Linked DNA regions of Homo sapiens: all the other regions are linked to region 4. Evidence: promoter capture Hi-C in 16 types of primary human blood cells and fetal thymus (Javierre and others, 2016). All regions are on one chromosome and are shown on one strand. Each heading gives the region's core, a stretch centred on a gene start or on the middle of the fragment in contact. The rest is flanking DNA. Distances are from core to core; before and after follow the strand shown. Region 1 overlaps RNF150 (ring finger protein 150). Region 2 overlaps RNF150 (ring finger protein 150). Region 3 has its middle 95 kb from the start of TBC1D9. Region 4 holds the start of UCP1 (uncoupling protein 1).

What was found. Contacts are between HindIII fragments. The CHiCAGO score rates a contact against its expected background, and 5 or more counts as called.
Region 1: a contact is called between a fragment that was not itself captured here and the fragment with the promoter of UCP1 in region 4, in 1 of 17 cell types (endothelial precursors). The highest score is 5.1, in endothelial precursors.
Region 2: a contact is called between a fragment that was not itself captured here and the fragment with the promoter of UCP1 in region 4, in 3 of 17 cell types (naive B cells, total B cells and endothelial precursors). The highest score is 5.7, in naive B cells.
Region 3: a contact is called between a fragment that was not itself captured here and the fragment with the promoter of UCP1 in region 4, in 1 of 17 cell types (endothelial precursors). The highest score is 5.0, in endothelial precursors.

Annotation. Positions count from the first base shown.
Region 1 is chr4:140,881,470-140,888,126 of GRCh38, reverse strand. All of the region lies in intron 6 of RNF150 (ring finger protein 150), which reads left to right. Among named protein-coding and RNA genes, the nearest start is that of TBC1D9, 130 kb to the right of the region's middle. RefSeq lists a silencer at 3,338-3,632. The HindIII fragment of the contact is 727 bases long and covers 3,563-4,289 here.
Region 2 is chr4:140,865,028-140,871,817 of GRCh38, reverse strand. RNF150 (ring finger protein 150) reads left to right here. Exons shown (of 7, transcript NM_020724.2): 7 at 3,439-6,790. The coding sequence ends at 3,557. Among named protein-coding and RNA genes, the nearest start is that of TBC1D9, 110 kb to the right of the region's middle. The HindIII fragment of the contact is 2,081 bases long and covers 3,010-5,090 here.
Region 3 is chr4:140,848,082-140,854,788 of GRCh38, reverse strand. No RefSeq gene overlaps it. Among named protein-coding and RNA genes, the nearest start is that of TBC1D9, 95 kb to the right of the region's middle. The HindIII fragment of the contact is 3,436 bases long and covers 2,014-5,449 here.
Region 4 is chr4:140,563,621-140,570,467 of GRCh38, reverse strand. It overlaps UCP1 (uncoupling protein 1), which reads left to right and starts at 1,507. Exons shown (of 6, transcript NM_021833.5): 1 at 1,507-1,864; 2 at 2,491-2,689. The coding sequence starts at 1,739. The HindIII fragment of the contact is 4,953 bases long and covers 1-3,105 here.

The sequences.
Region 1 (6,657 bases), core at 2,677-5,176, 320 kb before region 4:
ATGAGCAACCAGAGATTCTTCTAAACAAATTACTTACAATCCTTAAGGTTTTTAATCAGGCTTCTTCACGTGCTTTCTGGAGAAACAGATAGTCAGAATGGTCAGAAATGATAAAAACCTTAAATAGACTGGAAGTCAAACAGGTTGATGTAAAATGATGCCAGCATAATAAGAGCTAAGCATGCTCATGTCAGTGTTTGGTCTCCAGTTATCATTGAGCTGTTTACCTTATAATGTGTTTATGCTCTTCCTGAGGACTATATATTTAGGCACATTATTTAAAATGCTTCTTTCTTTTTGAAAATGCAGGTGTAAGAGAGTATGTTTCTATTTGTTTTCCTCTTCCCCACCCCTCCCAGAGCAAAGTAAAGGATTCCCTGCTTTGCTGTGTTCTGCAGCTTGACCTTTAAACCAGACTTTGTGTTTCCATCAGAGCCCTGTTCTCTAGTTTCTTCTGGCTCTAGTGTTGTGCTATTTTGTAACAGGGTGACACTTGTACAAGCAGTAGGGATAAGGCTGTCACATGGTGAATGAACTTTTTATGAAATGTTGATGCGTCGACCTACATCCAACAACACTGAAGAAATAGAATATTACAGAAACAGTGGGATGATAGCCAGGGAAAGGAAGGGTATAGTTTGTCACCAGCACATTAATGGGCAAAGAAGGAGCCCAGAAAGCTTAGTGGGGAAAGAATAAAACATATTCTCAGTAAATATATTAAATCCAATATTAGCTGCATATTATCTGGCATAGCGTATAGTGCACATACTGCGTAGCATTGTGCGTTATGTTTATATGCATGTGTATTTATCAAATCTCATTACAGGCTACAAAAAATGTATTATTATCAGTACTTTACTGATGAGGAAGCTGAGATTGTTTATTTCTCAAGATTTTATCTAAGCAAGTATTTGTCAAGTATCAACATCATATCATACATGTAAGTTAAATAGAGCTGTGGTAATTTAGCCTGGCATTCAAATCCTTCTGCAATCTGAATACCACCTATCTTTCTAATACCATTGCCTGTATTGAGTTACACCAGTCAGGAAAATGGAAATCACTCTAGGGATTTCAGAATAAGGAAATTTAATTCAAGAACTTAATTACAAAAATTTTGGGGGAAAATGAACAATTCCTACTTTGCACCATACATTAGCTTGAAATGAGTCATAGATCTCTATGTAAAAGCTAAAAGTATAAAAGTTCTAGAAGAAAACATAGGAGTAAATGCTAGCAACTTTAGGATAAGCAAATATTTTTTAGATAGGACTTAAAAAGCGAACCATTGACAAAGTTGATATGTTGGCCTTTATCAAAATTTAAAACTTTTAAAATTAGCTAGCTGTGGTGGTACGCACCTGTAGTCCCAGCTACCAGGGAGGCTGAGGTAGAGGGGGATTGCTGGAGTCCAGGGTGTCGAGGCTGCAATAAGCCAAGATTGTGTTGCTGCACTCCAGTATGGTCAACAGAGTGAGACTGTCTAAAAATAAATAAATAAAACTTTTGTTCCTTTAAGGACATCTTTAAGAAAATGAAAAGTCAGGCCTCAAGCTGAGAGAAAATATTTGCAATACCTATGTCTAACAAAGAATTTGCATTCAGAACATATAAAGAATTTGCATTCAGAACATACAACTCAGTAAGAAGACAAACAACCCAATTTAAAAATGGGCAAAGCATGTGGGTGACCTGCCTTATGTCACTAGTGGAGCATTGTGGGATGCCTAGTTCAGCTTTTCTTATTTATTTCCTGTTTTTCACTACTACCCACTCCACTCAGCTGAACACAACCACATACACACTTGTATGCACACTCCTCTATTCTGGAAAAATGTGGAGTAAAAGCAAATAAGTAAAAGCTAACATTGACTTGAACATTCACTTTCCAAAATAGATGTACATACTTTTCTTTTTTTTTTTTTTTTTTTTTGTGATGGAGTCGCCCTCTGTTGCCCAGGCTGGAGCGCAGTGGCGCTATCCCGGCTCACTGCAAGCTCCACCTCCTGGGTTCACACCATTCTCCTGCCTCAGCCTCCCGAGTAGCTGGGACTACAGGCGCCTGCCACCACGCCCGGCTAATTTTTTTGTATTTTCAGTAGAGACAGGGTTTCACTATGTTAGCCAGGATGGTCTCGATCTCCTGACCTCGTGATCCACCCATCTCGGCCTCCCAAAGAGATGTACATACTTCTTAGAACATATATAAAAAGAAGCTCAAGCTAGGTGCTGTGGCTTACGCCTGTAATCCCAGCACTTTGGAAGGCTGAGGCAGGCGGATCCCTTGAGGTCAGGAGTTTGAGACCAGCCTGGCCAACATGGCAAAAATCCCATCTCTACTAAAAGTATAAAAATTGGCTGGGCATGATGGTATGCACCTGTAATCCCAGCTATGTGGGAGGCTGAGGCAGGAGAATTGCTTGAACCTGGGAGGCCGAGGTGGGCAGATCACCTGAGGTCAGGAGTTCAAGACCAGCCTGACCAACATGGAGAAACCCCGTCTCTACTAAAAATACAAAACTAGCCGGGCATAGTGGTGCATGCCTGTAATCCCAGCTACTCGAGAGACTGAGGCAGGAAAATCGCTTGAACCCGGGAGGCAGTGGTTGCAGTGAGCCGAGATCGCACCACTGCACTCCAGCCTGGGCAACAAGAGCAAAACTCCGTCTCAAAAAAAAAAAAAAAAAAGATATATGTACATATATATAAAATATATGTACTCTTTTATAATATATTATATATAATATATATATAAATTAGCTGGGTGTGATGGCACGCACCTGTAATCCCAGCCACTTGGGAGGCTGAGGCAGGAGAATTGCTTGAACCTGGGAGGCAGAGGTTGCAGTGAGCTGAGGTCACACCACTGCACTCCAGCCTGGGCGACAGAGCAAGCCTCTGTCTCAAAAAAAAAAAAAAAAAGACTGATGTTGGAAAAAATGTAGAGAAACTAAAACTCTTGTACACTGCTTGTAGAGATGGAAAAACAGTACAGCCATGTTGAAAAAAACTGTTTGGAAGTGACAGGAGGAAGATGGCATAATAGAAAGCCCCAGATCCTCCTTCCTCCATGGAGATACCAACGGACTTAAGAAATGTGTATAGACCAATTGTCTTTGGAAGAAATAACAGAAACAAGTTAAGAAGTTCCTGCACTCCAGGCAAGGACAAAGCCAAGTGCTTGGAAGCCCAGGAGGAAAATTCATGGAACCCACTCATTCACCAGAGCCCCTCCCCTCTAGTATAGCATGGTGCCATTGGAGAAAACTCCCAACTCAGAGTTCTTCTCAAGCAGAGAAAGAGAAAAATGATTGTAAAGTGGGATGTCTAATATTCTGACTTTTGGAGGGGGTGTTACCTAAGGGACTGGCTTCTGTCTTCCCGAAATCTAAGCACAGACAGGAACAAGGCAGCAGGTCAGGGGGCCAAAAAAAACAAAAGTGATGAAGAGGACTTGGTTGAGCACGTGTCTCAAACATAAACACAAGGGGGAGCTCCAGTACCACAGCTTGCTACAAAGCACCAGAAAGGCTTCAGTGATGCAGACACTGGGGAAGCTTCTGAGTAAAACTGGCAAACCTCTGCAATTAGATTACATACAAAAACCCAGAAAGCACACATCCTCAGAAAAGGCCTGAGAGATCTCCAGAATCTCTAGCTGGGCTGGTTGGCGAACTACCTGTACCTGTATGAAACCAGACTGCAAAGACTGGGAGAAGTGGCAGATAATTCAAATACTGAAGTCCCAACAAAGCATGAAAAGGAGTACAAAGAAACAGGAAAATATGGCCCAATCAAACGAACAAATTAAATATCCAGAAATTACCCCTAAAAAATGGAGATATATGAATTATCAGATAAATCGTTTCAAAAGAATCATCTTAAAGATGCCCAATGAATTAAAGGAGAGCACAGATAGACAGCTGGATATAATTAGGAAAATGATGTATGAATAAAATGAGAATATCAACAAAGAAAAACTATGAAGAAGAAACAAACAGAAATTCAAGAGTTGAAGACTACAGTAACTGAATTGAAAATTTTACTGAGGGAGATTAACAGCAGACTTGATTAAACAGAAGGAAGAATCAGTGAACTTGAGGAAAAGTCACTTGAAATTATCAAGTCATAAGAGCAAAAAAAAAAAGTGAAGTACAATAAAGAAAGCCTAAGGGACTTATGCTGTACCATCAGGTGGACAAATATGTGCATCATGAGAGTTCTAAAAGAAAAAGGGAGAGAGAAAGGGTCAAAGAGCTTCTTCAAAGGCATAATGGCTGAAAGCTTCCCAAATCTAAGGAAAGATATGAACATCTAAATTCAAGAAGTTCAGTGAGCTCTAAATATGGTAAACCTAAAGAGGTCTACACTGAGACACATTACAATCAAATTGTCCAAAGTCAAAGACAGAGATAGAATCTTGAAAGCAGCAAGAAAAAATTAGCTTATCACACACAAGGGAGCTTACATATGATTATCAGCAGATTTCTTAGCAGAAACCTTATAGGCTAGAAAAGAGTGAGATGATATATTTAAAGTACTGAGAAAAAGGGAAAAAAATGTCAACCAAAAATACTATATACTGAAAAACTGTCCTCAAAACTGAAGGGGAAATAAAGACTTGCCCAGATTAACAAAAGCTGAGAGAGTTTGTCATCACTAGACCTGCCTTACAAGAAATGCTAAAGTGAGTTCTTTAAGTTGAAACAAAAGAACATTAGATAGTAACACAAAAGCTTACGGCACCATGAAGCTCAGTGGCAAAAGTAAATATGTAGACAAATACACAATACTGTGATAGGGTGGTGCATAAATACTGTAATGGTGGTACATAAATCACTTTTAATTCTGGTATAGAATTTAAAGGACAAAGGTGAAAAAAACTACTTTAATGGATGTAAAATATACTAAAGATATAATTTATAACATCAGTAACTTAGTGTAGAAGGGAATATATAAGAGTAGAGTTTTTATATGTGGCATTATCTGCTTAAAATAGATTATTATAACTCTGACATGTTTTATGTCATCTCTATAGTAACCACAAAGAAAATACTCAAAAAAGTACACAAAAGATAAATGAGAAACAAATCAAAGTATATAGCACTACAAAAAAAAATGAACAAAACTAACAAGAAGGCAGCAAGAGAGGGAAAAAGAGAGATAACTACAACATAGAAAATGATAAAATGAAAATAATAAGTACTTCCCTATCAGTAATTACTTTAACTGTGAATAAACTCTCAGATCAAAAGACTAAATAAATGAAAAACAAAAGGTAACTATATGCCGTCTACAAGGCAGTCACTTTAGATTTAAGGACATACCTGAGCTAAAGGGAAAAGATGAAAAAAGATGTTCCATGTAAATGGTAACCAGAGAGAACAGAGGTGCTCATATCAGAAAAAATTAGACTAAGTAAACAACTGTCACAAGAGACAAAGAATGTCATTATATAATGATTAAAAGGTTAATTATTCAGAAAGATATAACAATTATTAATATATATTTACCTAACAGAGCACCCAAATATATGAAGTAAACATGTACAGAATTTAAAGGGAAAATAGTAACACAATAAGAGTAAGAGATTTCAATACCCCATTTTCAAAAATAGATAGAAAACCAGACTGAGAACAATAGGCATAAGTAGAATAGAGCAACACTATAGATCAGTTGGATCAAACAGACATATACAGGACACTCCACCCAACAGTAGCAGAATACACATTTTTCTCAAATGCACATGAAACATTCTCAAGGATAGATCACATGTTAGGCCACAAAACAAGTCTTAAGAAATTTAAGAAGATTGAGTGGCTCACACCTGTAATCCCAGCACTCTGGGAGGCCGAGGCGGGTGGATCACGAGGTCAGCAGATCGAGACCATCCTGGCTAACATGGTGAAACCCCGTCTCTACTAAAAATACAAAAAATTAGCCGGGCGTAGTGGCGGGTGCCTGTAGTCCCAGCTACTCAGGAGGCTGAGGCAGAAGAATGGCGTGAACCTGGGAGGTGGAGCTTGCAGTGAGCCGAGATTGCACCACTGCACTCCAGCCTGGGCGACAGAGCAAGACTCCATCTCAAAAATAAAAATAAAAAAATTAAAAATAAAGAAAATTAAGAAGATTGAAATCATACGAAATATCTTTTCCAACCACAGTGAAATGAAACCAGAAATCAATAGCAAACTGGAAAGCTCATCAAAATGTAGAAATTAAACAACATCCTCTTTTTTTAAAGAGATGGAGTCTTGCTTTGTCACCCAGCCTAGAATGCAGTGACATGATCATAGCTCACTGCAGCCTGAAACTCCTGGGCTCATGATATCCTCCCACCTCAACCTCCTGAGTAGCTGGGACTGCAGGTACATGTCACTACACTTGGCTCTTTTGCTTTGTTTGGTTTTTCATAGAGACATAGTCTCATTATGTTGCCCAGCCTGGTCTCAAACTCCTGGGTTCAAGCAATCCTCCCACCTTGGCCTCCCAAAGGACTGAGTTTACAGGCATGAGCCCCCATGCCCAACCAACACTCTCTTGTATAACCAGTGGGTCAAAGAAGAAATCACAAGATAAACTGGAAAACGTCTTGAGACAAATGAAAACAAAAAGGTAATGTACCAAGACTTATGGGAGGCAACAAAAGAAGTA
Region 2 (6,790 bases), core at 2,801-5,300, 300 kb before region 4:
CAGTTCACACACTCCCATTTAGAAAAAACCAAGGTGTGAATGAATCTATGGAATCTGCTGAGGCTGGTGGCTGCAAAGCCAGAATGAAGTTGAGAAGCTGTCACTGTAGGTAGCAGTGAGTTCTGTCTCTATAGAACTGTAACTAAGTCAGCTCTTTATCTGTGCTATTTTTTTTTTGGCTGGACCCATATGAAAGTCATAAATTCATTCCATTATGAGCTCTTTGGTTGACTTCCAGTTTAATTGTGAGCTGAAAATTTTGGCTTCCTGTGAACTGAGTTGATTGATGGGCCACTGCAAGAAAAGAAGTGGAAATTTAATTCCCTATAAAGTACAGCTCTCATTTTTTATCTCCAGGAATAAGATTTCAGCTTTCATTACACCTCCAAGTGGGAATTCTCCCATTCGTGTATACTTGTACTAAATATACAAAAGCAGGCATTTTTTATTAAGAAAAAAATTGCAAAAATAAAAACAATTTGAAGAATTGTAAAAAAGGCAACTTTGTTTCTCAGTGGTCATTCTATCTAATAATTATTCATCAGGAACCCACTATGTAGGAGGCCCTGTACTAGATTGGCATCAACACATAAACATGCATAAACAACAACTGGAAAGGACTCTAATGCATCCAGTCCAAATTCTCATTTTCTAGGCAATTAAACTTTAGCCCTAAAGGAGAAAAACAATTTTTACAAAATAACACATGCAGTTACTAATAGCAGATGCTAGAATATAGTATCAAGTCAGATAGATTCCCAGTTCTCATAAGTATAAAGTGTGTGTGTGTGTGTGTATACATATATATATATATAGAGAGAGAGAGAGAGAGAGAGAATTCTTATTGTAAAAATGATGTTTAAGGAGAGCACTGAGTAAAAAGAGTGGACCTGCCATATGAAGCCACTCCCAGTCTCTCCTGAAATTCCACAAAAACCACAGTGAAGGGATTTTTTTTTTAAAGACAGAGCACGACATGGACAGGGAAAATGCAAGAAGAGACAATAACAAAATTTAGGCAACTGCAAAAAACAGATGAATGGTCCATGACTTAGTAGACTAGAGACACAGCAAGCCCCTGCATCTGGCTGTGTGGGTTGTGTCCTGCCCCACTTCAGGAGCCACTGCTCACTCAGACTCCAGAGTGAAGCTGTGCTGTGGAGTGGTGCTGTACACACCCTGCACAACAGCACGCCACGACCCTGCTGAGAAAACAAGCACAAATCAGGCATGGGGAAAGGGAGAACCACCGTAATTTGCACTTGAGAATTTCCCGAAGGTCAGGGATCAAAGGCACCAGGTGGCTCTGGAGAAGATAAATGAAAAGGAAGTGCACACACACACACACACACACACACACATACACGCACAAAATGAAGATGGGAGATCATATATAGCAAGCTTAGAATGTATTTTGTAGTGAAGTGTGAGGCACAGATCCAGTTTCACTTTTTTCTAAATGACTAGTTTTCTTGACTATTTGTTGAATGCCACTGTTTTTAAATACCAAAGACTTGTATCTTTATAGAGCTGCTTCCAGGGTTTTCATTTAACCATTGATCTGTTACATTGCTATGAACTTCCTGCAATTGTGGATCTAGGAAACGGATAAGAGCTAAGTCTTCAGGTTGGATATTTCCCTGTGAAATACCCCATTTCTATAAAACTGATTTTTCAGGCCATAATTCTTTGTTTGTTCTCTTATTTGTCTCCTTGAAAACATCTTAGGAATTCACTGTCCTTCATGAAACTCAGGTATTTTTCTTAACTGTGCCACATCATGAAAAAATTACATTAGCGATTATCAGAACAAAAGTATTATAACCATTATTATTCTTTAGTACTTATACATTTTTGTTGGTTTTTTTAATTGCATATTTCTTCTGCAAAGTAAGAGAAAGTACAAGACCTTTTGGGTTGAAAGCTGCCTTTATGCAGCTCAGCTCTCTGGCCTCCTCTGTCCATATTCCCCAGCTTGACTCTGCATTCCAGTCAAATTAAAAACCCTCTGATATCTGCCTGCCCACAGCTCCCTATCACCTCCAGCCACCTGTACATGCTGTTGCTTAAAGGATTATTTCTTCTTATTCATCTGGCTATAATACAGATTATCCTTTAGGACTCAGTTTAGACATTGCACCCAGTATATGGTTACATAGCCCTCTTACCTGCTCCTGTAATACCTGGTACATCTTCCATCCTGGTGCTTATCTCACTGTGTTGTAATTGCCTAGTAAATGGTCAACCTGCCCACCAGACAATGAGCTCCTTCAGGATAGGGATTGTCTTAATCTCCCCTATATCCATAGCCTCTAGCATAATCCTTAGTGTGCAGTAGGGACACGGTAGATAATGTCTTGAATGAGTAAGTGATGTATGTTCATTGAAGAGTATTTGGGAGAACTGAAAAAAAATGTTAACAGAAAATGAATATAAATCCCAACACTAGAGATGACTCTCGTTAGCATTTTTGGTTTCTTTGCTTCCATTTAACTTTCTCTGTTGACCCCATTGCATACAAAGCTTTAAATATTTCTGTTTTCACTTAACAGTATACTGTGAACGTCTTCTCATGTAACTACAAATTCTTTGAAAACATCATTTTAATGGTTATAACAACATTGTCCTTTAGAAGTAATAGGTTTATTCAGATGTTCTCTATTGTTGGACTTTAAGTTACTTGCAATGTTTTGCTACTGTAAATCATGCTTAATTGAATAGTTTTGCATCTCCAGTTATTTCTCTATAATACATCCTGGAAATGAAATTACTGAGTGAAAATTTTACAGTTCTATATGCAATGTATCATGTACCTACCTACCTCAGTGTACCCTTAACTGTAATATTATCTTGTCTTTTTTAAAGAGTGAAGATTACATAGACAAAAAAGGATATCTTATTTTTACCTTATATTTATTGGTCATTTATATTACACTCTTCCGTGAATTGTGTAATGGTAACCTTTGTCCATTTTTCTATTGAACTGTTTTTCTTATTGATTTAAAAGCTTTCTATATGTTAAGAATAGAAACCTTTGTGAAATTTTTTGCAAATTCCTGAGTTTGATATGCCTTTTGATTTTATTTTACATGTGTGTAACATTTTAAATGTTACGCATATGTAACAATCTTTTCTTCTGTAAATTACCCAATTACTTTTCTAAATAGAATTTCTTGCCCAACTTACGGTAGATATATATTTTCCTACTAAGACATATCCTTAGATGATATATTTTATTATTCTAGTTTCTTTTGTTTGCATTTAACTTTTTGGCCCATGTGAGATGAGGCTTTAACTAGAGTTTTTACAGAATACCCAATTTTTCTAATACCTTCTCTTGGCCTTTAAAGAAATGTTATTACAAGCAATTGTACTGAAATAAGCAGCATGCAAAGACATAGCTCGGTGTTCACTGTGAACTTTGCTTTCTCCTCCCAGGTGAGCAGGAGCCAGCTGTAAGCAGTGATTCTGACATTTCCTTGATCATGGCAATGGAGGTTGGACTGTCTGATGTAGAACTTTCCACTGACCAGGACTGTGAAGAAGTGAAATCTTGAAACGACAAATCCAGAAGCAAAGAGATAGTAGGACCCAAGGGAAAGGAAGGGAAGAGTGCTCCAAGACTTGGACCAGGCACACACACACCTCCAGATCACCTTGGCAACTCCAGGGCGCTCCGTTCAAGAATGCTGACGAAAAGCAATATCCAAAGTCTTGTCAATCAGGATGCAGTTTCTCCATCGGTATGGCAGTCTGTGGCCTTGGCAGCTGGGAAGTTGAAAGCTGATTTCCACTCCTATGTCCATGTAGACATACACTTCAGAAGCTCCTAAAACAGAGACTGAAAGGCCACCTTTAGGATTTCTTAGTTTCATTTCAATTCTTTCCATGTCTCATCATTCTTGTTTTTGGCATGTTGTTTGATTTCTTTGGCAATTTTTTTAAAGATTATTTGTAGTTTACTTTCCATCTATTCCTTTGTTTTTCCTTTGATGCACTCCAGCTTTTGTATAGGTTTCTGTTTAGAAGCACCAGTTCCTGCTATGATCAGTTTGTATTCCATCTCTGAGATATGTGGTCTTGACCTCCCAGCATGAAGTGTGCATGGCTTTGAGAAGTGCCTCAGCACCCTGAAATGGACTAAGGCCAGCTTTCATTAAGAATCTAAGTTCTTCTAAGTGGGCCTTTAAAAACCCCAGCTGCCAGAGACCCCAACACTAAGCCCTAAATCTGCTGAGGCCACTGCTGGTTATTTTAAGCCACATCACACTTGCTTCCACTTGCCGGGCTTGATTAAGGGCCCACGTGACATGAGAAGGGAGCTCTAGGGAAGCCGTTTCATTCTTCTGGGTCTTACAGTCTTTGGCTGAAATTCTGAACTCAGAAGTCCCCTCCAAGGCATCCAGTCTTTGGTGGTTGTAGGGCTGGTTTTAAAACCAGATACCACATTTTCTTCCTATTGAAAACAAAATGCCAGTTGCATTGGTTTCCCCTGGGCTAGAACAGTTTTTTTCTTACCTCTGTAAGTGGGTTCTGTAAAAAATGGAGGCTTTAGAGAAAAGCCAATCATTTTTAAGTCCAATGGCAAACATAGTGGGGGCTGCAGTAGCACCTAGCTTTTACCTTAATTTCGACACACTTCTGTTGAATCTCACCAGACCATGTGGGAGGATTTAGGTGAATCCCTAGCAGATTGCTTCCCAGGGCTCCCTGAGTGTGTCCAGATACCAAGTGAGGAATGAGGTGTGATTTGCTGTATCATTTGAACCAAAAAGTATGCAGCATGAGAATTTGCTAGATCGTTTATCCTGACTGAAATAGACAAAGTAAGAGGGAAAGGAAAAGAGGTATCAAGTAAATACTGAAACCCAATGGTGTTTTTAAACTGTTTCTGTTTTTATTCATCTTTTGTAACTATGACAGAAATGTGCTATTTTTTCAGTGGGCAATTTTGTAATATATTCAGACTATCCAGATACAGAGATGACTAAGGTCATTGATAGCGTCTCTGAACAATCAGACGGATCACCTTATCTCTACACAGCTGGCAAACACCAGGCTGCGGCTTGGATTAACCAGGAAAGAAAGCTTTTCTCACTGAGTTGTTTTTATGTATTGATGGGGACTTTTCCACCTCATTAGACTAATACTCATTCAAAAAGAGTTTGGTTCTGCTGTAAATCCTTGCCGCCTGCTGAAACATGGTGTGCAGGTCAACGGAGAATACTAGCTGCTCCTTTTTCACCACCTTTACCAATTTCCTATTTGATGGTTTGTAAGTAGACAGTAAGGCAAGGCAGATGATTATTACCCTCAGAAAGGTTGCATCTCCCTAGGAGTCCAATGCTTCCTGTAATGAAATCCACTCTCTATGTGTGGGAAAAGAGGCAGGGAGGAATGAAGAGAGCTCTGAATCGAGAATCCTAGATGAACCACACGCTTTACTAAGCCTCGGCTTCTTCATCTATAATGTGAAGGGTTTAATAACATGAGTCCCCAAGCTCCTCTGGCTGTGGGACCACAGATGAGTCTTTCAGAGGCAGGATCCATTTTTGCAGATAGCTATGACTTGTGGCAATCAGGCTTCGTAGCTTGGGGAGGTAGAGTTACTTGACATGTATCATGTAATAACAGCCTTTGAGACTTGGCACAACTATGGTGCTGAGAATGAAAATCTAAATGATTGAAGTTTTAAGTCCAAGTAGGAGTTGGTTTGTTTTGCCTTGTTTAAAAATTGCTGTTAGTCACAGAGTTTGCAATCTCTGGATACCTTCAAATCCTAGCTCTCACTGTGGGATTCTTGATCTCAGAGGTGTTTATTTTTCACAGTCAGCATAGGCTTGCGCCACTGACTCCTCCTTCAGTCGGCTTTGCCCAAAACAAATTTTAGTATTACTGGTATTAAGTTTAGTCCAGTGGAATTAGAAGGATAATTCAATAGCAACAGAAATATAAATTATATTCCATTCCCAGAGAGAGAATGCGCTTTGGATTGTTTAGTCCTCTGATTAACGAGTATTTTCTCTTCCTGCCAAGAACTAGGTGAATCAGGAATTGATTGCATATGCAAGCCCTGGCCACAGCTGCACTTACAGGATGCCTCATAGACGATGAGGGGTCTGAAAGGCCAACCCGAGGCTGGCAGATCTGACCCCAAGGAGGTCCTGCTGCAAACCCCCTGAGCCTTTGCCATTCACTACTTACCAAAGTTTGTTTCTGGAGGATTTTCCTGTAGCTTTGATAGTTTAAAAAAAAAAAAAAAAAGAAAAAAAAAAAGCTTAACCAGAAAGTTTCTCTTTCAGAAGAAAGGGGAACAGCCCTTCCTTATAGCCTTCTTTACCTCCCCCAAAGAAGAGACTGACCTGGAGACCTGGTAGTCTACAGATGAGTGTCAGAGGGTGTGTGTACCCTCTAGAAGCAAATGCAGACTGTATGTGTATTTGCAGATGTGCATTTTTCTATAGCAAGAGTCTAGACTAGCACTGTCCAACAGAAACGTAATGCAAGTCACAGACATAATTTTAAATTTTCTACTAGCCACATTTTAAAGTGTAAAAAGAAACAGGTAAAGATAATTTTAATCATGTACTTTAACCTAATATTGTTTCAACATGTCACTAATGTAAATTAATGACATGTTTTACATGCTTTTGTGTACTAAGTCTTCTAAATCCATTGTGTCTTTTACACTCACAGCACCTCTCAATTTGGATAGTCACATGTGGCTAGTGGCTGCCAATTGGACAATGCAGGTCTAGAGTTCCTCCAGTATTCTCACAAGATCCCCCGA
Region 3 (6,707 bases), core at 2,482-4,981, 280 kb before region 4:
AGGAAGTAAAGAGCGAGGATTCTTTTTCATATATTAAGAGGTGCTCAATGTCCAGAGGAACCTTCCAAGTAGAGAACTCCTAAAAACAATGGATAAAATATTAACACCTCCTTTAAGACAAAGAGCTAAGCTGGTAGGAATGTAAGATAAATTCTTGGACACCAGAAACAGTAAGAAACTACTAGTCTATTCAGAGGGGAACAGGACCACCAGAAATAGAGTTTGCCCTGGGTGCCTATGTTTATTTAGCTTTCATGATCTAGGGGTCTACAATTTTTTTCTGAAAAGATACAATTTTAAAGATAATATTTTGGGCTTTGTGGGCCACATATGATTTGTCACTTACTTCATTGTTGTTGTTTCTTAGCAACAGTTTAAAAATGTAAAAGCCATTCTTAGCTGAAAGGCCACACAAAAACAGGCCACAAGAAGGGCGTGTGCTGCTCCTACAGGAGGAGCTCAGAGACAAAGCTCAGGCTCAGAATCAGAGACTCCAGCACAAAGCCAGCACCCAAAAGAATTGACACCCTTCGTGGGTAAACTGGAAAAAAAAATATGCTTACCAGAAGGAATTGATATAAGTGTTTACCAGTGTTGGCCTTGGTTCTAGTTAAAAAGGGAAAAAGATAAAGTCTCCTCCAACACCCCAAGATACCTTAGCCATAGACAAGCCTTCTCATGGGCTATGTATCAGAATCCAAGTACTTATACGACCTAAAAACCCAAAGTACGAATTTAAACTTATTGCAAACTGATAGTCACATTCAATGTTTAGTAGAAATGAATGCATATATCCTCACTAGAGGAATACTGTTTAAACCAGGTCTCAAAGGAATTCTCACAAACCAAGTTTGAAGGAATATAAACTCACCACCAAAAGCTCAAAATACATAAGGAAACAAGTCACAGTGAGGAAGAGGGTTGCAGAAAGATTGATGATACGAGAAATAATTGGTTCAAGATATAGGGTAAGTGTTCTAGGGAACCCTACAGGTGATTCTAATGCACCTTGAAGGTGTTATTGTTTTTAGAGACAGGGTCTCACTCTTTCGCCCATGCTGGAGCACAGTGGCACGATTATAGATCGCTGCAGCCTCAAACTCCTGGGCTCAGGTGATCCTCCTGCCTTAGCCTCCCAAGTAGACCTGAGACTATAGACCCATGCCACCATGTCCAGCTAATTTTTAATGTAATTTTTTTTTTTTTTTTAAGAAACGGGGTCTCACTGTACAGGCTGGTCTCAAACTCCTGGCCTAAAGCAATCCTCCCACCTCAGCCACCCAAAGTGCTGGGTTTGTAGGCATGAGCCACCATGCCTGGCCTCATCCTAAAGTTTGAAAACTACCATTCCAGTCACTTCAGAGCTCAATAGCACAACTACCAAAATCAAAGTAGGAAAGCGGGACAAGTAAAATTGTTTATTTGGTTGGTCTACTTTGATCTTATGGTAATGAACTTGGAGGAGACTAAATTTCACCTATAAAATGATGGCTTGAGACTAAAGAAGAAATAATCAAGCCTGTCCTTATACTTTACCCACAGGGTCCCATAGGAACCAACCCTGACCTCTGTCTCCCACTCACCTCTATCTGGACACTCTCCACCTGACTCACAGGGCTGCAGCCACACTGTGTCTGCTGGTTTAACCATGTATCCTGGGGACCTAGAAGGAGCTCAGGGAACATCGTTAAACTAGTAACTGAATGAATGCTGGAGGCTCAGCTTTTTAGCCCAAAACACCAAGTCCAGGCTGGCATATTAATGGAAAGAACTGCCTGCTGAGGACTTGCTGCTACTGACTCTGAAGAATAACAGTGACACTAAAATAAATGCATAGTGCTTATCATCACTGCTGTCATCTTAACGTTAGTAATAATAGTGAACATTTGCATGGTTACTATGCACCAGGCACTAGTCAAGTGCTTTGCATGCATCATATCATTTCGCCCTTACCATAACCCTTTGAAGAAAGTACTATTAGTACCCCATTTTACAAATTCTGATCATGAAGCTTAGAAAGTAGCTTGCCCAAATCACACAGCCAGTAAGTGGCAAAACTGCTCATTAATCCGTTTTCTGGCTCCTAAAAGCTGCTCTTCACCACCATGATATATTATCCTCCCTCATCTGAAAAAAGAAGCTGACAGGTTTCTGTCTTTATCTCTGTAAAATAAGATGAAAGATATTTAAATTTAAATTTAAAAAAACAAGTCTGGTGTGGTGGCTCATGCCTGTAATACCTGCACTTTGGGAAGCCCAGAGAGGAGGATTGCTTGCAGCCAGGAGTTTGAGACCAGCCTAAGCAACATAGCGAGACCCTGTCTCTACAAAATAATAATAATAATAATAATAATAATAATAATAATAATAATAATAATAAAATAAATTAGCTGGTGTGGTGGCACGCACCTGCAGTCCCAGCTACTCAGGAGGATCGCTTTAGCCCAAGAGTTTGAGGATCCAGGGAGCCATGATCACACCACTGCACTCTAGGCTGAGTCCAGAGCAAGACTCCAAAAAACAACCACAACAACAACGACAAAGCACCTTTGCAGTAGAGAAATATAATAAACACTATCTCAGTCAGGTTGTCAAAATTAACATCAACAATGATGCATACATAAGTATGTAGCCTTGATATGATGTGATGAGAATGTTACTGGGGTTTTCCTCCCAAAAACCCATAACACAATCCTGGTAGAACCATGATAAAAACACCAGACAACTCCACACCGAGGAACATTCTACAAAATACATGACCAGTATTCCTCAAAAACTGCTAAGGTCATCAAAAACAAGGCAAGTCACAGAAACTGTCAGAGACCAGAGGATCCCAATGAGACAAGGTAATTAAATGTAATGTGATGTCCTCAATGAAATCCTGGAACAGAAAAAGGACATTAGGGGAAAAGTTACAATGATAGTGAAATCTGAGTAAACTCTGGAGTTTAGTTAATGGTAATGTACCAATGTTGATTCCTTAGTTATGACAAATGTACCATGGTAATGCCAGGTGTTAGCAACAGGAAAAACTGAGTGATGGAAATACAGGAACTCTCTGTACTGTCTTTGTAAGTTTTCTGTAAATTTAGAACCATTCTAACAGGAGTTTTTTTTTTAAGGAGATACTATTATCAAATATAACAACCTATTGAATTATTAGAAGCAAAGAATTCATCTCTGATGACACTGTGGAGTGTCCTCCGTTGGAAATTTTAGGAATAAAACAGAAAGCTCAGTACCCTGAAGAATTTAAATGTTAGTCTTCTTGAAACATAACACTGAACCAAATTATTTCTTGACATCAATTATATTTTAAGACTATACATTTGTGATTTTTATTAATTGTTACAATGACTCTTCAACACTGAGTAACTGGAAAATTTGCCAAATGAAAAGTTAATCTTTTGTAATTATATGTCAGAGTTATCACAAAAATAATGAGTAGGTGTCTCAGCTACGGCACAGTAATTACATTAAACATTGGCTGGGTAAAGAACCAAACGTTACAGAACGCTTGCTGTTTGTGTTGGTATTTATGTAGTTGAGCTGTTTCTCCCAGTAGGGGGCTCTGTTGACCATCAAATGGAAAAGATGCCCTGGCGTTAGGGAACAGAGTTTTTTGGATTCTACTTTGATTAGCGTTTGTAGGGGTAACTTTGAGGAAGAAAAACCTTTCACAAATCTTCTCCAGTTAGAAAGGAAGATTAGACAACACCAACTAATGTGGTTGGGGGTAGAGGATGTTTCAGAGAAGAAAGAAGGTATATTGGACCATACCAGAAAACAGAGACCTTCAGAATGCTCTTAGGCCTAGATATTGCTGAAACCATATATGCTCAAATGAAAAGCAGGTTTGAAGTGATAAAACTAGAAATGCCATATCCCACTTTCAGGATATGTGTTCCTGAAAGGTAATATTGGAGAAATGTCCTTCTTATACATTTTTTAATTGAGATAAGGTCTTGCTTTGTTGTTCAGGCTGGTCTTGAACTCCTGGCCTCAAGCAATCCTACCTTGGCCTGCCAAAGCACTGGGATTACAGGTGTGGTCCATCACACCTGGCCAAAGAAATATTCTTGAAGTATCACTTACATACTCATTGATTGACCACTAATGCCCTATTCCACATAGCATTTCACAAGATAGCTCATGCATTTAATTCTTTATCTAAATGCAGGAGCAAGAGCAGCCTCTACACACACACACACACACACACACACACACCCACACCCACACACACACATACACATTGACCCAATAAAAAATTTTAATGATCTCCCATTTCTATAAGCCCAAGTACAGAAGAGAATTCTTGATTGGTTTCTAAGTCCTGCTCTACCTAGCCTCTGACAACATCTCCAGAATTATCTTAAACCACTTTCCCACTCACTCTGTGTGTTCCAGCCCCACTGGCTTTAACATCTTCTATTTCTAACATGCAGAGCACCATCCACTACAGGGCCTTTGCACAGGTTTTCCACACAGCCTTATTGGTCTTATCCTATTCACCTCCTTCTATTTAATGCCAATTCATTCTTTGGATCTCAGCTCAAGAGCTTTACCTTGAAGAAAACTTCTCTCACCCCTGGATTAAATATCCCAGTTAAACGTTTACATAGCACCTTGTACTTGGCCATTATAGCTCTAATGACAGGTCTACTCCATGTATTAAACAATGTTTAGTATTGATAGTTTGCTTATGTGGTTGTCAGATTAATACCAATTCTCCAACCTAGATTGCAAATTACTTGAGATTAGGATCCATGTTTTTATTCTCCATGTATCCCAGTACCTAGCATAGGACCTGGCTTAGCACAGGTTTTCAACATATATTTGTTGAATAAATGATTGAAGGAATGACCATGCCACACACACATTCTCAGGAAAAACAACACTTGGATTTCAGAATGTACTACTTCCAATGGGGAAAAAAAATCCTGCTGACTTCAGAGGGAGTAAAGCCAGAAAGACAAGCAATAAAAGATGGTATCTTTGCCCAGAATGTGTAGGTTCTCTGACATTCACTGCCTTACCAAAGCCCATCCTGTTTTCTGAAATGCTGAGTCAGGTTATTTGGAGAAATTCTTTTGGCAAAAAAAACCTCTTTTTTGTTTGCTTGTTTCTATAAGCCAGGGAACACCAAATATTGCCAGTAAACCACCAGAAGCTAGGGAGAGGCACGGAACAAATTCTCCTTCAGGACCCTCAGAAGGAACCAACCTTGCTGACACCTTAATCTCCTCCAACTTCTAGCCTCCAGAACTATGAGACAACACATTTCTGTCATTTAAGCTAAAAAACAATTTAATGTGATAAAATATAAATATAGATAGAATATATACAATGTATCTTAAAAGAATCAAAGCAGTGACAAGATAGGAAGGAAATACCAGACCTACCATGAAGAGAAGTCAGCATCCCAGAAGCACAAATGAAGACAGAAGCTTCTTTTCCTCTGAGAGTAGTTATCCACCCTAAAAATACTGGATTTTCATTTTAGTGGCCTCCTGGCACTGGAAGAAAAAAATCAACTCCCAGAAACCACATAAAATCGAAAGCCTAATAAGAGATTCACCCCTTAAATAATCTGTAAAGACCCCCCCCCCCATAGACCAGTCCTAGCACAGAACCACAACCTCAGTTAAACTCTCCTGAGTATCCTGTATTTTCCAGGTAATTTCAAGGCTTAAATTTAGTTTAAAGTTGTCTTAAACTGGTAGTGCCTCTAGATACCTTGCAGAATCAAATACAAATACTTTCTGGGAAAAAAAAGCCAATTTCATATTAGGCATCAAAAAATTTGTCCAAAACTAAGCCAAAAATAGCCAGATACACAAAGAAAGTAGATGTCATAAGAAATATCTGGCAGAATACAGACCACAGAAACAGAACTACAAAGACTTCAAGTCTTAGAATTATATAAATTAACTGTATTAACTATATTTAAATTTTTTGTTTAAAAATTAATAACATCTGAAAGGAAGGAGAAACTATGAACTGACATATATTTTTACAATTTAAAGTATAAAACAGTTTTTGAAAAGGATCAAATGGAACTTTCAGAAAAAAAGTAATAAAATACCAAAATTTAAAACTCAGTAGATGAATTGGTTTATTAGCAGATTAGACACAGGTGAAGAAAAAAATTAATATACTGAAAAATAGTGGGGGGACAACTATTCACAATGAAGGACTGAGTGACAAAAAGATTGCTGATACAGAAAAAAAGGTAAGGGACATAAAGAATACCACAAGTGTTTAATGGGTATCTCTGAGGGTAAGAAGGAAAAGAATAAGGCAGGGACAGTATTTAAAGAGACAATGAAGATTTTCAGAACCAATGAAAAACACTATTCACAGAATCAAAAAGCCCAGTGAATTCAAAGCAACAGAAATTCATAGCACCACATACACATAATAGAAAAGAAAAAAACTTAAATCAATAATCTAAGCTTCCCCACAAAAATTAAAATTAAAAATAATCTAAGCTTCCACCTCAAAAACCTAGAAAAAGAAAAGCAAAATAAGTAGAAGGAAGAAAACTATGAAACTACAAAAAATTAGAAAATCAATGAAATTGTGAAGATGAAGAGCTTCTCAAAAAACATTTCAAGGTAAGAAATGAAATTGGAAACAGAAAAATGATTGAAAAAAAATCAATGAAACAAATAGCTGGTTCTTTGAGCTTAAGCCCAGGAGTTCAA
Region 4 (6,847 bases), core at 258-2,757:
TCCCAGTCAGTCAGGCCAACAGAATGCATTCTATATACGCGACTTGCTTTCCCCAACATCTTTGCCTGTATGCATGCCACTTATTTGCCTCAGTTGATCTTTATTTCAACAAGTGTTTGCAGAGGAGAAACCTCGCTGGCTCCTTCTCCTTTCTATTTTTTTTCAGAGGCTACCCGTCAGGTCAACATTGCCTTTTTCAGGGAAGCTCTGCAAGCCTGACCTCCCTTGGAAGTGCCTTAGGACTGGCTTCTTGCACAGTACACAACCTTTACTTATAGAGGGTTTGGAGATTATTCTTTATTCATGTCTTATTTCTCCTGCTCCTGGAGGAGATGACTCTGACTTCCACTGACTCTTTTGGGGGGCTTAAGTCAGGGTTGAGTACCAGAGGCCCTAAATAGCTGGACGTGGATTCTGGTAATATCAAATCCATCTTTGGCTTAACTGAGAGGTTCTGAAAGCTGGGACCTGACCTTGTCCATTTCCCTCTTTCTCCAGTTTCCTATTATTTCCCACTGTTTTTTTTAAAAGTTTTTTGTTTTCTTAAGTTTTCACAAGAATAAACATTGAAAATAAAATTTGCACAAAGATCGAACTAGGAAAGGCCACACAACCAACACATATTACATCATTATAGGTAAGTTAGCAGGGAGATTTCAGACCTGGGCTAGCTCTGGAACCACATTTTACACTGTTGAAAATAAAAGCTGGAGTACAGATGACTTTCCCAGGTTCACAGAGTTGGTAAGCTGGAGAGCTGCACCTGGAGCCAAGCAACCTGCCCTGTCCTTTCCACTGCACCCTCTAAGAAATCTAATTAGAAGGAACAGGTGGTATCTCATTTTGTACGGTGCTTTAGCAATGTACTATTTGCTTTCTAGTGTGTCTATTGTCTCGTTTGACATCTTCTCTCAAAAAGTGATGAAACGAAACGCTCTTTTTGACAAGTTCAGAGTGCTCTTGGTTCCTGTGTGGGATTCTTCCAAGTCTGAATTTGGTAGTGGGAAGAGAAGGAATCCGGAGGAAGGAGGATGAGAAGTTTAAAGGAGAGGAAAGGGAAGCAGAGAAGGCCGCAAGGTGCCTGCAAGATGTCTGGGGAGTTGGAGGAATGGAAGAGTGCCCCGCTCTTCCTTCTGGGAGAGCTCCAGCTAGGCAGAACCTTTCACCAAGGCTCTGATATCGTGCTGGTTTCCGAAAGCCCCAGCCGAAGGTGTGCAGCCAAAGGGTGACAGAAGGTGAGGCACGTGCGGGGGCGCGGGTGCTGACCGCCGCGGTGCGCCCTCCCTCCGACGTGCGGTGTGCGGGGCGCAGACAACCAGCGGCCGGCCCAGGGCTTTCGGGGAGCGAAGCAGGGCTCCCGAGGCACCGAGCGAGAATGGGAATGGGAGGGACCCGGTGCTCCCGGACACGCCCCCGGCAGGTCCCACGCCCGGGTCTTCTGAGACCTCGCGCGGCCCAGCCCGGGAGCGGCCCAGCTATATAAGTCCCAGCGGAAGACCGGAACGCAGAGGGTCCTGCTGGCGCGAGGGTGGGTAGGAGGGGACGCGGGGACTCGGCCCCCAACACCGCGCTCCGTCTGCAGCCGCCGCCTCTGCACCGCCGCTGCCCGGCGGTCGGTTCAAAAAACAGAAATCGGGTTTGCTGCCCGGCGGACAGGCGTGAAGAGCAAGGGAAAGGAACTTCCTCCACCTTCGGGGCTGGAGCCCTTTTCCTCTGCATCTCCAGTCTCTGAGTGAAGATGGGGGGCCTGACAGCCTCGGACGTACACCCGACCCTGGGGGTCCAGCTCTTCTCAGCTGGAATAGCGGCGTGCTTGGCGGACGTGATCACCTTCCCGCTGGACACGGCCAAAGTCCGGCTCCAGGTAGCTAGGCAGAGGGGTAAGACAAGGGGTCTCAGGACAGAGGGGACGCTGTTGCGTGCATTCCATTTATTCTCTGCTTTGGTGTAACCACTGTTTCTAGGTAGGGTAGGTGACCTTCCAAAGCAGTCTGGCCTTGTCCCAGGGCTGGTGCTTTAGGATGGGAAACTGGAACTTTTTCTGGGATTAGCTGAAGAACCACCAGGGCCACAGAGAATGGGTTGACCATGACTACTACCAAATTCTCCCAAAATTTAGGGTGCACTTAGTATTTTAAGAGCTGAGAATATTGGCCTCTCCTGAGTTTACTAGTCAGGTGCTTTTTCCTTTCTTTGATTCTTCGGGGGTTCTGTCCTATCCTACTGCCCTAGGGGTTCTGGAGAGTTCCTGGGGAGGGGGATATTCAAAATGTGCATTGTAGCCAGCCTCCCTCCATCTGCGCGTGAGCGAACACACACACACACACACACACACACACACACACACACACACACACACGGTAGAGGGAGGTGGATGGAAGAGGAATGTTGCTGAGAAAAGAAACGGAAAATAGGAACACAGGGGGAAATCTTGGCTTAAGAGTGAACTCAATTTCGCTCCCTTCTGTTCTGCACCTTTCTTATTTCCAGGTCCAAGGTGAATGCCCGACGTCCAGTGTTATTAGGTATAAAGGTGTCCTGGGAACAATCACCGCTGTGGTAAAAACAGAAGGGCGGATGAAACTCTACAGCGGGCTGCCTGCGGGGCTTCAGCGGCAAATCAGCTCCGCCTCTCTCAGGATCGGCCTCTACGACACGGTCCAGGAGTTCCTCACCGCAGGGAAAGAAAGTAAGCCGTGAGCGTTCCTGGGAGGGGCAGAAAAGCCTTGGGCTCCGCTCTGTTCCAAAAAGTGTAACACACAGAGGAGTGGTTTTCATAACAAATTGGCGAGAAAACATTCATATTTGAACTCTCCCTTCCCCAAACATTAGCTCATTGTTCATAGAAAAAAGTATGCAAAATCGATTTTTTAGATGCAGATATATACTTGTAAAGGTCACCCAGTCATGGAAGTTTTGTGCCCAGTTTGGATCTCCATCTGGAGAATATGGGTGGGCTACAGAAAAATGTTTAACTTAAAGTTCTCCAAAGAGGGAAGTATATCAGAAACATCTATGGAGCTTGTCAGAAATCCAAACGAGGACTACCATGGTCCTCTGAGTCTGAATCCTCAGGCTAGAGACCAGAGTGTCTTTCCACAAGCTTCCCTCATCATTTGTGTATGCAACAAAGTTCAAAGCCTTCTGTTTGAAGCAAAGAAAGCCAGACTTTGTGAAGAGAGTTGAAAGGACAGGAAAAGACATATTTCCTCTTAAGAGGTTCCTCATCAGGTCCAGGAAAGACCAGAGCAGAAAAAGTGGACGAATGCTGCAGGGAGTTTGTTTAGGGGAAAAAGAAAAGGAAACATATTTCCTGAGTGCCAGTGCACTCTAAGAATTCCTGTCACTTTAGGTAGCATTTATTTGAGGGCTTAACTATGAACCAGACATTGTTCTAAGTGCTTCAGATACATTATAACTGGAAGGGTATTAGTACCATTATCCCTTGGCAGATGGGAAAACTGAACACAGAGCAGATTCATCACTTGCCCAAGGTCACACAGCTGGGAGGGGGCAGAGCCAGGGTTCAAACCCAGGCAGTCTGGCCTCGGACTCCAGGCTCCTAACCCTGTTCTCTACTGCCTTCTGCACTTCTCATATGATTCTGCCCATCATTCAAACCGCACAACACTGCTGTGAGTAAAAAGTGTTAGCCGAATATCAGGGTAGTTAAGTAACATGCACAAAATCACACAGCTAATCAACATCAGAGGCACTTTCATGTGGAGTAGACAAGCCAGAGAGAAGATGTGCTGATGGCACAATGAATACATTAAGTGAAATCCACCTTGTAGATTTCATCATTTCTGCTGTGAGTAACCTTCAATACTATAATTTTATGGGATAATTTATAAATGTTGTCTATACAAATATATAAGTTATACTTATCCACACAAGTACTTTCAAAGTGAAGATAAAGTCTGGATGTTACTAGATCAAAACTGCATTTTTTTATTTATAGATGTAGCAAGAGAGGAAACACAAAGGAGGTAAAGCTGCCCGTTCAGGTGGTTTTCTTCACAGATTGACTGTTCTACCAATTGTTGTGGACTTTGGGCACCAAATTAATAGGATATATGTTGGCAGTGTTCTATGTTATATAGATTCAGTTTATTTAGTAGGCTTTATTGAACTGCCATGTGCCAGTAACTATGTTAGATGTTTAGATGGCAGATGTGTCTCTAGACAGAGCTTACAGTTGAGAGTATGGGTTGTGTGGGGAGAAGTGAATAGATGACTATATTCCATGATACATGCTGTATTACAATACAGTCCTACTTCACTTAACGATGGGGATACATTCTCAGAAATGAGTTAGGAGGCAAATTGGTTGTTGAATGAACATCACAGAGAGCACTTACACAAACCTAGATGGCATAGCCACACCTAGGCTATATGGTATAATCTATTGCTCCTAGGCTACAAACCTGTGCAGCATGTTGGTATTGAATACTACAGGCAATTGTTACATAAAGTTAAGTGTTTGTGTACCTAAAAATAGAAAAGGTAATGCATTACACTACAGTCTTATGGGGCTGGGATGTCACTAGGTGATAGGAATTTTTCAGCTCTGTTCTAATCTTACGGGACCACCATCATGTATGCAGCACATGACTAACTGTAATTACAAGATGGTGGCTATATTAAACAGAACTACTTAAGCTAGCCATGGAGGTATGGTCCGTGAGATTTTCCTGAAGAATTAACGTCTGGATCAATTCTGGAAGGGCCAGCAGGAGTACTCCAGGCAAAGGGGTGAGAAAGGAGCTTCCAAGTAGAGTGAAGGTCATGTGCAAAGACTCAGTGAGGAGTCGAGTGAACATAGCACAGGGAGGACATGTTGGTGAGGAAGGAGGGGTGAAGCCACAGAGACAGGAGGGAGCCAGATGACAGAAGGCCTTGCAGGCGGTGCTAAGGAGTTTGGATTTTATCCTTACAGTGGTGGGAAGTCATTGTAAAAATATTAAGCAAGGGAGTGGCATAAACAATTTACATTTTCAAAAGATCACTTTGGCAGCAGATAGAGTATATATGTAAAAGGAGTAAGAAAGAGGTAAGTTAGAAAGCAAGAAATGATCAGGGTATGCCCTAAAACACTGGCAATAGGGAAAAAGAGATGTCAATCAGAAAGATTGAGAAAGTATAATTGAATTGACTTGGTGAACAAATAGAAGTAAGGCATAAGGGACAGGTAGAAATATGAGATGACTTCCAAGTTTCTGTTTAAAGATACCCTTTATTGAGAGAGGATGTATAGAAGCTGTCTTAGGGGGAAGACAAGAAATTTGGTTTAGGCCATGTCAACAGGTAATGGCCAGTAGGCACATGATTCAGTTTATTTAGTGGGCTCCTTTTAGGAGAAAATCTGAGCCAGATTCCAGGAAGTCACAGCAGGGACTACCAATAGGGTCAAACAGCAGAGAGTGTGGAAAGGACTGAAAAGTGATCATTGTACATAACAAATAGAAGCTCACTGATTTTCTAGCAAAAACATCTTCAGCAGAGTAGCGTGGTATAAGCTATATTGTAGGGGACTGAGGAAGAAATGGGCTCTGAGAAGTAAAGACAAACAATATGTTTTGTAAATAAATTTCTTTTAGTTCTTAAAAAAAAAGCCTCTTTTCCAGCTTGATTGGGAAGTGAAGAGAGGGATTTGAAAGTTGGAGATTGGAGGATAGGATGAGTACATCAAGATACACTACGTTGTAGTGCAGTGCATTACAAATGTGAGCTAAAAGTGAAGGCATTTGTAATCATATGATATTGCTAATTAAAAGACAGCTGTCAGTCATATGCCCAGCTCCTGGTAAAGCATGATGAGAAGAGTACAATCATGGTAGTGATTTAAAAATTGCTGCCAGTTTTGTGGATTTTCTTTATGCTAGACAGTGTAAGCTCTTTATCAATATTATTTAACTCACACAACTCTAAGAGGTAGATATTATTATCCCTTTTTGACAAATTAGGAAACAGAATTATAATGACTGAGAAAGTCTCTGCTGAGTAAATGTTACTGAACCTTAATTTTATGTTTACTTAATGATAGAAATGAATATTGGGCTTCAAGACTATTTGTACTTAATGAAATCTGTCTTGAGCAACATAAGCTATTTTTTTCAAAATTTTAAGACAAAAATCACTTTCTTCTCTCCTGTCTTCTTATTTTTGTTCCCTTCACATGTTGTAGCCTAACACTACTTGATGGCCCATTTTGGTGCAGTTTGTCCACTGGGCTTCATCTAAGGCCACCAAGTCCCATAATTAACATGATCATTCGTGGGAGAAAGATCAAGCCTCATTGGTGATGGGTGCCTCCTCACAGTCGGATAATACTGAAAAGAGAGCTAAATGTGGGAAAGAACCAAGTTGAACACAGGAAAGAATCAGGCCACTGTGAAAATAAGCATTGTGTTTTCTTGTTCCTTGAAAGTCTTCATTTTTAAAAAATTTCAGACACCTGAAGTTTTCTAGCCTTACTCTGAGTTGACGCACATTTAGTACATGATCAACACATAAACAAGCATTAGAGAAATAGAAAAGCTGTAAGAATACAAAAATATGGGCCAGGTGGGTGGCTCATACCTGTAATCCTAGCACTTTGGGAGGCCGAGGCAGACGGATCACCTGAGGTCAGGAGTTCAAGACTAGCCTGGCCAATATAGTGAAACCCTGTCTCTACTAAAAATACAAAACTTAGCAGGCTGTGGTGGCACGTGCCTATAATCCCAGCTACTTGGGAGGCTGAGGCAGGAGAATCTCTTGAACCCGGGAGGCGGAGATTGCAGTGAGCCAAGATCACACCACTGCACTCTAGCCTAGATAACAGAGCAAGACTCCATCTCAAAAA